Regions from separate parts of the Homo sapiens genome. Here region 2 is linked to region 1. Evidence: promoter capture Hi-C in human tissues and cell types (Jung and others, 2019). All regions are on one chromosome and are shown on one strand. The core of a region is centred on a gene start or on the middle of the fragment in contact, and the rest is flanking DNA. Distances in the headings are between cores, read along the strand shown. Region 1 holds the start of ASCL4 (achaete-scute family bHLH transcription factor 4). Region 2 has its middle 67 kb from the start of ASCL4.

Region 1 (3,903 bases), core at 1,130-3,629:
GAAGATATAGCCTGCCTTAGTTGCTACAACTGTAAAAGGGGGTAATAAAATCTAAGTGAAATCTACCTGGAGGATGCACTTCCACTGTTAGTTCTCTTTGTCCATTTCCATTTCCCCTCCTTCTTCCCCCACAAACCAAAGCTGCCTCCATGGAAAGGATAATTCGGCATATTAGAAAACAATCTTAGGGAAGTTGATCTTCATACATCAGCAGGCATTTAACTTATCTACTGAACTCAAAATTGTTTCTTAGAAAAAAAATGACCCAAATTCAATATTTTAAAAAGGCTTTTAACATGGCCAAAGTCACTACATCATTTCCATATACTGTACCTGGAAGCCCTAATGGTGATAAAAATATTTGAGAATGTACCAACTTCAATCCATCCGTCTTGTCCCATATCTTTCCCCCATCTGGCTCAACCCGCAAAAAGGACTTCCAAGTAGATTTCTTTTTTATTTTTAAAGTCACAGTGCCACTTCAGTTTATCCAAAACTTAGATGGAGAGCTACACGTTGGGGGGCGGGGGGTATGCAGAGAAAAGGAAAATGAAGAAAACAGTGGACAAAACAATTGAGAGGAAAAACAAGTTTTCATACAAATCTGGGCTCTCTTCCAAAGAGATCATTAATTCTAAGATATTTTACTATCTGCTCAATGCTACAAAGCTTCCACGTGGCCACTGGATGAAACAGTGTGTACCAAGCCACGGATTCCCTGGCACCATCATTCACACAGTCAACAACAGCACATGCTGGCAAATTCGTTCTCAAGTACCAGCTTACAGTCTCCTTCACCCAAAGCAGGAGGTCAACAATTACTTTCCATTACATTTTGAATACAATTCCCGAAGGAAGGAATGCAAGAAAATGTTCCTCTCATTTTTAAGGACTGTTTTTGGCTGTTTGGGGTTGTTTCTGTTTTGGTGGCGGTAAAGTTCTTCTTTGGTTAAGGTTTAATGTTTATGTATACCATTTACCCACACCACGGAAGGTGGGAAATTCCAGTTGTTCTCGCCCTTTGAGTTTTTAGAATAATCGTATTTACAATGAGGTGCTCAGAATCTGAAACAGTTTGCATTTTAGAAGTATAGGAAAAGAGTCTCCTTAATAAGCACCTATAAGTTGCAGGCACGTAACCAATAAGGGCAGGGGAGAAATTCCCAAATGTCAAAACAACTCCCCCATCCCCCAAACCCCAGCACCCATTTCTTTTTCTTAAGATTTAGGCCTGGAGAAGATGCCAGATTAAGAATGCAAACCACCTTCGAAGAGGACCTTAGGTTGAGCGCCCGGCTGCGCGCTGTGCGGCGGGCGCGGGGGTCCTGGCCAGTTCGGGCGCTCGCTAGCTGCCCCCCTCCTCGGGCTCGCTGCTGGGCGAAGGCGCCGAAGAGGCCTTGGACTCCCCGTCGCTGTTGCATTCCGCCCTGCGCTGGGGGACGGCGCCGGCCGCGCCCTCGAGCCCCCAGGCCTGGCGCTCCAGCAGCTCCTGCAGGTGCTTGATGTAGTCGATGGCAGCGCGGAGCGTCTCCACTTTGCTGAGGCGCTTGTCTGCCAGCTCCCGGGGCAGGTGGTCTCGGAGGCGCGCATAGCCCTCGTTCACGCAGCGCACCCGCTGCCGCTCGCGCTCGTTGCGCTTGCGGAGGAAGGCGGGCTCGAAGGCGCTGTCCAGCGGCACGGGCAAGTACTGCCATCCCCGTGCGCAGCCGCTGCGCGCCCACTCCCAGCACGCGGCGTCCAGACGCAGGGCGACCCTGAGGGGGTCCCTCCGCGGGAGTCCGGGCAGGGTCCCCGGAACGCCCAGGGGCGCGGTGCGCAGCGAGTATGGCAAGGCCAGCCGTTCCGCCGGTTTACGCGTCTCCATCATTTGCCGGAAAGCACACAAATCACTCAAGAGGTCAATCTCTCAATAGAAGAAGACGAAACAGAATCTTAGAAGCAGAGGTGCTGGTGCAGACTGCCTGGCTCAGTGGGTCTGTCTTTGCAGAAGTTTCTGGGTCCAGAAGTTAGGTTCCTGGACAGGCTTCAGGGAAACGGTGCATGATTCCTGAAGTTCATTGCACTCCTCGATCTTTTTATGATTTAGGCAGAGGTGGTAGGCAAAGACGTAGGATCTCCTAATCCACACTTCAAACCCCGTCTTCCCCACTGATCTTCTTTCAGAAGATAACAAAGGGGGTTCCTCTGCCTGGTCCCCCAGCCTGGAAAGGTGAGCTCACACCAGAGTCATCTTCCAAAGCCACCAAAAGCTTTTCAATGCCTGTAATCCACCACTCTAGGTCTTCAAGAGATGAGTCGTTCGCCAAGAGCCTAGCAATCTTCAGGATTTGAGAAGAGCTCCTCCCAGGAACCTGCAGATCTGGCGGCGGAGGGAAAGTGGACCAGAGGCTTTCTCCTTGAAAATCACTTGACTGTCCTTTGTGGTTTCCCGCGACCAGGTCTAATGGAAGGAGCTTTTAGAGTGTTTGCAAACTTAAACTTGCTCTTTCATTTCTGGGGTCTTAGCCTCATCAAAGGAAAAACTGCTCTCTTGCGGTTATAAAATGTGTCAAGTCAAGGAAGACCCGGGGCGAGGCTTGAGGTTTTTCTTCTTCCAAACCGAATCTTTTAAAAACTCAATGAGGCATGTTTGAAGGGTATAGGAAAAATACAGACTGTAGCAAAGAATATAAGGGTCTGCATATTATGTTCCAACATATGTTGTTTTATGGTTGTTGAGGGTGTTTTATGGAGATGCGACTTTTTAAAAGCACATCAAAAGACTGAACAATAACAAACGCGCTTAGCCGGTTATTTCTCACAGTGCTTACTGTAAACACAGCTTAAATACTGCTTCCCAGCCTCCTCTTCTAATCTCACCCAGGATATAAGGACATCATCTTTCCATAGCGCAAAGAGTGTTTTTCCATTGGATTCTTCTTCTTTAAAAAATGTCATTTATTTTCTCTCTTGGGGGCAGGAAAGCAACATTTGAAAGGTGGAGACTCCAAGTTCCAAGGAGAAAGGATGATGTCTTTGAAGACTTGTCTTTTTAAGACACAACCCCTCCAAAATGAATAATTAATCCATCCGTGTTGGTAAACCTTTGAAGATTAAAGTGTCATTAAAAATCCAACTGTACTGGTTAACGTCAAAGAATATGTTATCACACTGAAAATCAGATTTCCTCTTCTGCAAACCAGTACATTAAAGGTGTCTTCTACTTTAAAAGTCCTACTTAAAAACAAGAGAAGCAAAAACCCCCTACATTTATGATGAGAGCTTTTGCCTATTCCTCAGCAGACAAGGTGCTGCCCTAACATGTTTTTCTTTTTAGTTTGGCAAGTCCTGTTCTTCCCTGTTTGTTCTAAATGATCCGCCTGAAGCAACTCAAAAAACAAGGCAAATAAAATAGAAATAATTATTCCTTTCGGGTATAAGTTAGTCACATTTTTAAAGGTGTAGCTTGGCTGGGTGCAGTGGCTCAAGGTTGTATTCCCAGCACTTTGGGAGGCCAAGGCGGGTGGATTGCTTGAGGCCAAGAGTTCAAGACCAACCTGGCCAACATAGCAAGACCCCCATCTTTTAAAAAGAAGAAAGAAAAATTAAAAGTTGTAGCTCCTGATGAGGTTTGTACTGGCAAATAGCCTAATATATCATCACAATTTCTCAGTAGAATTGAGAAAGCCCTTTCTATTAGGAGAAAAGTCCACCACTCAGGCAGGTAGGCTGTTATACCACAAGGTGCTTTTTGGCCATGTCAAAGATTTTAACTTTTAAGAGTGACAGGAAGATAATGAAATATTTTAAGCAGGGAGGTGACATTTGAAGATTTGTGTTTCAAAAAAGATAACTGTGTCTGCAGATTGAGGACTAGATTGGAAGAGAGCAAAAGGAAGAACAGTTGAGATGCCATTTCTCCTT
Region 2 (4,277 bases), core at 473-2,972, 67 kb before region 1:
AGGTGGCCCTGGGCTCCATCCCTGACCACTTCTACTCGGATTCCTGGTAGCACCGCCGAGATTGAGAGCTCGGCAGGATCCACAAGACGGCCAGAGAGGGAGATACGGCCACAGTGCAGCAGTGCCTTCTGCTCAAGAGCCCTGCATTGAAGGAGGGGGACAACAGGAACAGGAGATGGGAGCTCCCAGCCGAGGGTGGCGGCGGGAAGGGTGGGTCTGGGAGGCGCCCCTGTCCTTCCGTGCAGGCCCCGCAGCCCCTGGGACAGGGACGCCTTGGAGGGGGCGCTGGGGATCTCCATGAGCAGCAAAACCAAAACAAAACGTTAGCTGGTTTCCTATCCTCTTACTCATACTGTCCCGTCTAGAGCACATTATAGACAATTTTAGTGATTTCACTAACAAGTATATAAAGAATTTTATTATTATTATTATTTTGAGACGGAGTCTCACTGTCGCCCAGGCTGGAGTGCAGTGGCGCATCTCGGCTCACTGCAACCTCTGCCTCAGGGGTTCAAGCGATTCTCTTGCCTCAGTCTCCGGAGTAGTTGGGATTACAGGCGCTGGCCAACAAACCCGGCTAATTTTTGTATTTTTAGTAGAGATGGGGTTTCAATTTTAGCCAGGCTGGTCTGGAACTCCTGACCTCAAGTGATCTGCCCGCCTTGGCCTCCTAAACTGCTGGGATTACAGGCGTGAGCCACTGCGCAGGTCCAGGATTTTACTTTTAGTGCATACATTTAAAACATGATGTTATACACATGACAAAAAGGTGCATAATGAGAGAAATGGTTCCCGTAATATAAATACTCTTAAAATATTTTTAGTAGGCTAAAAATTCTTTGGATGAAATCCAATATCCATTTTATATCAATGTACATCTATGTAAATATGTTCTTTACTGAGGGAACTTAGAAGGAAATGTTGAAGTAGGAAGAGAGCTGCATGTTCTTTGATAGGAAGACCGATTTTTCTTAAAATGTGAGCCCTTTATGTGTTTATTAATTTTTTATAAACCTAATAAAATATCAAGGTTTTAACATGTTATCTATATACAAAAGAAAACATGCTTAGCTTTCCTGGGAAGAGAAGGAATTTAAAGTAAAGAGGAGCGAAATACTGTTTTCTATTCCCAATTTTGTGATGATGAAGAGCAGTGGTGCTTATACTGCTGCTTAAAGTTAAAAAGAGTCTGATGACTTTTCAAATGGATAATTTGGTGGTAAGTGCCGTATTTTTAAAAAATATATGCTCTTTACTCCTCAATTCCATTATACTAAAATAGCTTTAGGAAACAGACATATATGCAATTTGGTTTTCTCAGCACTGCTTAATTTTAGGAAGAACCCATAGAATGGATTTTATAAATTTCAGTGCATTCATAGCATGGAATAAGTGATTGTTGAAGGTGGCAACAGATACCGAAGAATGTTGATGTACAAAGATGTATTTTGGTATACTGAGTGAGAAAAAAATCAGTTTGATTATATATCCATACAGGTTGTGATCTTATGTTACCAAAAATATGTACAATATATAAAGTTTTTTCCTTTTTCTTACCTTTGATTTTGGCAATGAGTATGCATAAAAGTTGTAGTGAAAGTTTATTATTAATAGAATAATGCTTGGGAAGAGAAGAATATAAATCTTCAAAGTTAAAAATAATTTATCATTTTCTGTTTATTATTATTATTTTTGTGTAGATTGGTGTCTTCGGTGAACTTTTGACCTCTTCAGAATAAAGGGACTTTTTTTATCTGTGCTTGTAGATTTTATTATGTATATATTTTATTATATATGTGTGTTTTCATTACATGTAGGTTCATTACATATGTGCAAAAAATTAATAGGGTAATCATTTTATTTTCATTGTGTCCTTATGAAAATAAAAAATAGAAGATATACATGATTATTACTTTTGCAGAAGTATTGGTTTACTTTATAGGAGTTTTATTCAAAAAATATTGAACTCCTCAACTGTATTTATCCATTCTTAAAAGAATTTATTCATCAAACATTACCTGAATATCTATTAGGTAGCAGAAATATTCTACTATCTCTCAGAACTCTTCCATCCTGAAAAAATCACGTTTTCCAGCCCAGTCTGAGCAAACGGAGAGATTTAAAATTGGAGTATTAGGACTTCATTTCACTGAAGCTTTCCTTCCCTCCTTTCAAACAAAAGCATTTCTGGGTAGAAAATAGTAAACGACAACCTTAACTGCCCTTTTGAAAATGTATTAGTCTTAAATATTCATATAAATCATTGCAAGTATGTGATTTACATATATTGTATAAATCTAAGTATTGAATAAAATGAGTCATACTTGCTCATTTGAATCCCAAGTTTCCTTTGGCTTATAGTTTTTTTAGCAATCAAAGTAAGAAGTTGTTTTTAAAAATTTGTTGTTGTTATTTTAGCCCTCTTTCCTCATAGTATTTTAAGAACTAACTGGCCAGGCGTGGTGGCTCACGCCTGTCATCCTAGCACTTTGGGAGGCCAAGGTGGGTGGATCATGAGGTCAGGAGTTCGAGGTCAGGTGTTCGAGACCAGCCTGGCCAACATGGTGAAACCCCATCTCTACTAAAGATACAAAAAATTAGCCAGGCGTGGTGGCGCTTGCCTGTAGTCCCAGCTACTCGGGAGGCTGAGGCAGGAGAATCTCTTGAACCTGGAGGCGGAGGTTGCAGTGAGTCAATATCGTGCCATTGCACTCCAGCCTGGGTGACAGGGCAAGGTTCTGTCTAAAAAAAAAAAAAAAAAAAAAAAGAACTAACTTTTTGTTAAGTGCCAATCATGCCTAGAGCTGCCCTGGACCCTTTGAATAGACCACATTCTACTTCACGTAAGGCACAATGGATTGTGTGATGCTTCTTTATTTTATGCTTTTTAAGGAGTTTTTAAAAGTGGTAGTCCTGCCTTTGTATATGAAGGAAGTAAAGGGAAATGAAAATAGAAACTGAACCTCAAAAGAATCTGAGATTACACCAGTATTTGAGAAAGCCAGTTTACTAAGTGGTGGTCTGCTACAACTGAAGGATGACAGCAGTTTAAGTGAAATAGATGAGAAAGGAAGGTGACATCTGTAAGTTCTGTATTTCCCTCTGAAGGAGTGTTAGCAGTGATTCCTTTTTCTGGAAGTAGAATAGTGTAGTCAGCCAAAGCTAGGGAGAATACTCAGCTGTATCAATGTTGCTGAAAGATCAATTAAGATGAGGACTAGTGACTTTGACAAGGAGCAGTTTCAATAAATGTCACCGTGAAACCCTGGGTGAGTCACAGAGCATGACTTAGTTTTCACAACTTTTGAGAGAACTTTTACAGGGAAAGGCAACATTGAGGGACAGCCAAAGAAAAATGAGGGATTCAAGGGAATTTTCTGTTTGTAATTTTAAAATAGAAGCCTTTAGAGCATGTTTGTAGGCTGATGGGAATGATCCAGTGGAGAAGGACGTGTTTATCAAATTTAATTTTGTTTGCAAGTTAAACATTAGAAAGCTTGATGCATTATCTTTTAAAGACTTACAGGAAACTAATTGTCCTTAGCACTTTTATTCATTTATAGTTGTGTGTTAAGAGGTTGTTCCTTCAGAATTGGCCCAGGAATGGAATATTCTAGTCTAATTGAACCTGAAAATGATAACCTAAATATTAAACTCTCATAGTAGATTTTTTAAATGATGTGATATTAAACATACAAACACTTAGGCCACCCTGAATAGAATGTAAATATTCCTTGAGGATGTGTATATATTACAATACCTTTTACAGTAGTATTATGAATAGCTATGATTTAGTAAGGTACTTGAAAATATCAGGTGTATCAACGTCATAATGGTTTAGATTCTAGGGAGAAGGGGAGGATTTTGTTTCTGTACAATAGTAAGGCAAACTATTGACAATCTGTTGTGAATTATTACTTTCAGATTATAAAGTTCTAAAGTATCAAAATCATTTCCCTGGACCAAATGTGTCATCAACATGTATTGTGTGCCCATTAAGTATTTGTTGCATGATGAATAAACAGTTGAGTAAATGAATAAAATCCTGTTGCTCAAAGTCTTTAGAAAACATAAACTATAGTTGATTGAAAGTACATTTTAAAAATTGCCTGGGTATAAAGTATTTTTATTTAAAAAATGGTAAGATTCAGAAATTGTTATTTATAGTTATCGCCAGAAATGGGATGATAATATGAATTTATCTGCCACCATATCGCCTAAAAACACTTGAAAATAAATGTTACTTTCCCTTCACAGCAAAACACAGGTTTTGGAGC

What was found. The method cuts DNA at HindIII sites, captures the fragments that hold promoters and counts their contacts. A contact is called where the count stands out against the background at its distance.
Region 2: a contact is called between a fragment that was not itself captured here and the fragment with the promoter of ASCL4 in region 1, in 2 of the 25 tissues and cell types used here (H1 embryonic stem cells and pancreas).

The regions. Positions count from the first base shown.
Region 1 is chr12:107,773,180-107,777,082 of GRCh38, reverse strand. It overlaps ASCL4 (achaete-scute family bHLH transcription factor 4), which reads right to left and starts at 2,379. Exons shown (of 1, transcript NM_203436.3): 1 at 439-2,379. The coding sequence starts at 1,864. The coding sequence ends at 1,346. The HindIII fragment of the contact is 5,777 bases long and covers 1,460-3,903 here.
Region 2 is chr12:107,839,347-107,843,623 of GRCh38, reverse strand. No RefSeq gene overlaps it. Among named protein-coding and RNA genes, the nearest start is that of ASCL4, 67 kb to the right of the region's middle. The HindIII fragment of the contact is 4,762 bases long and covers 1-4,103 here.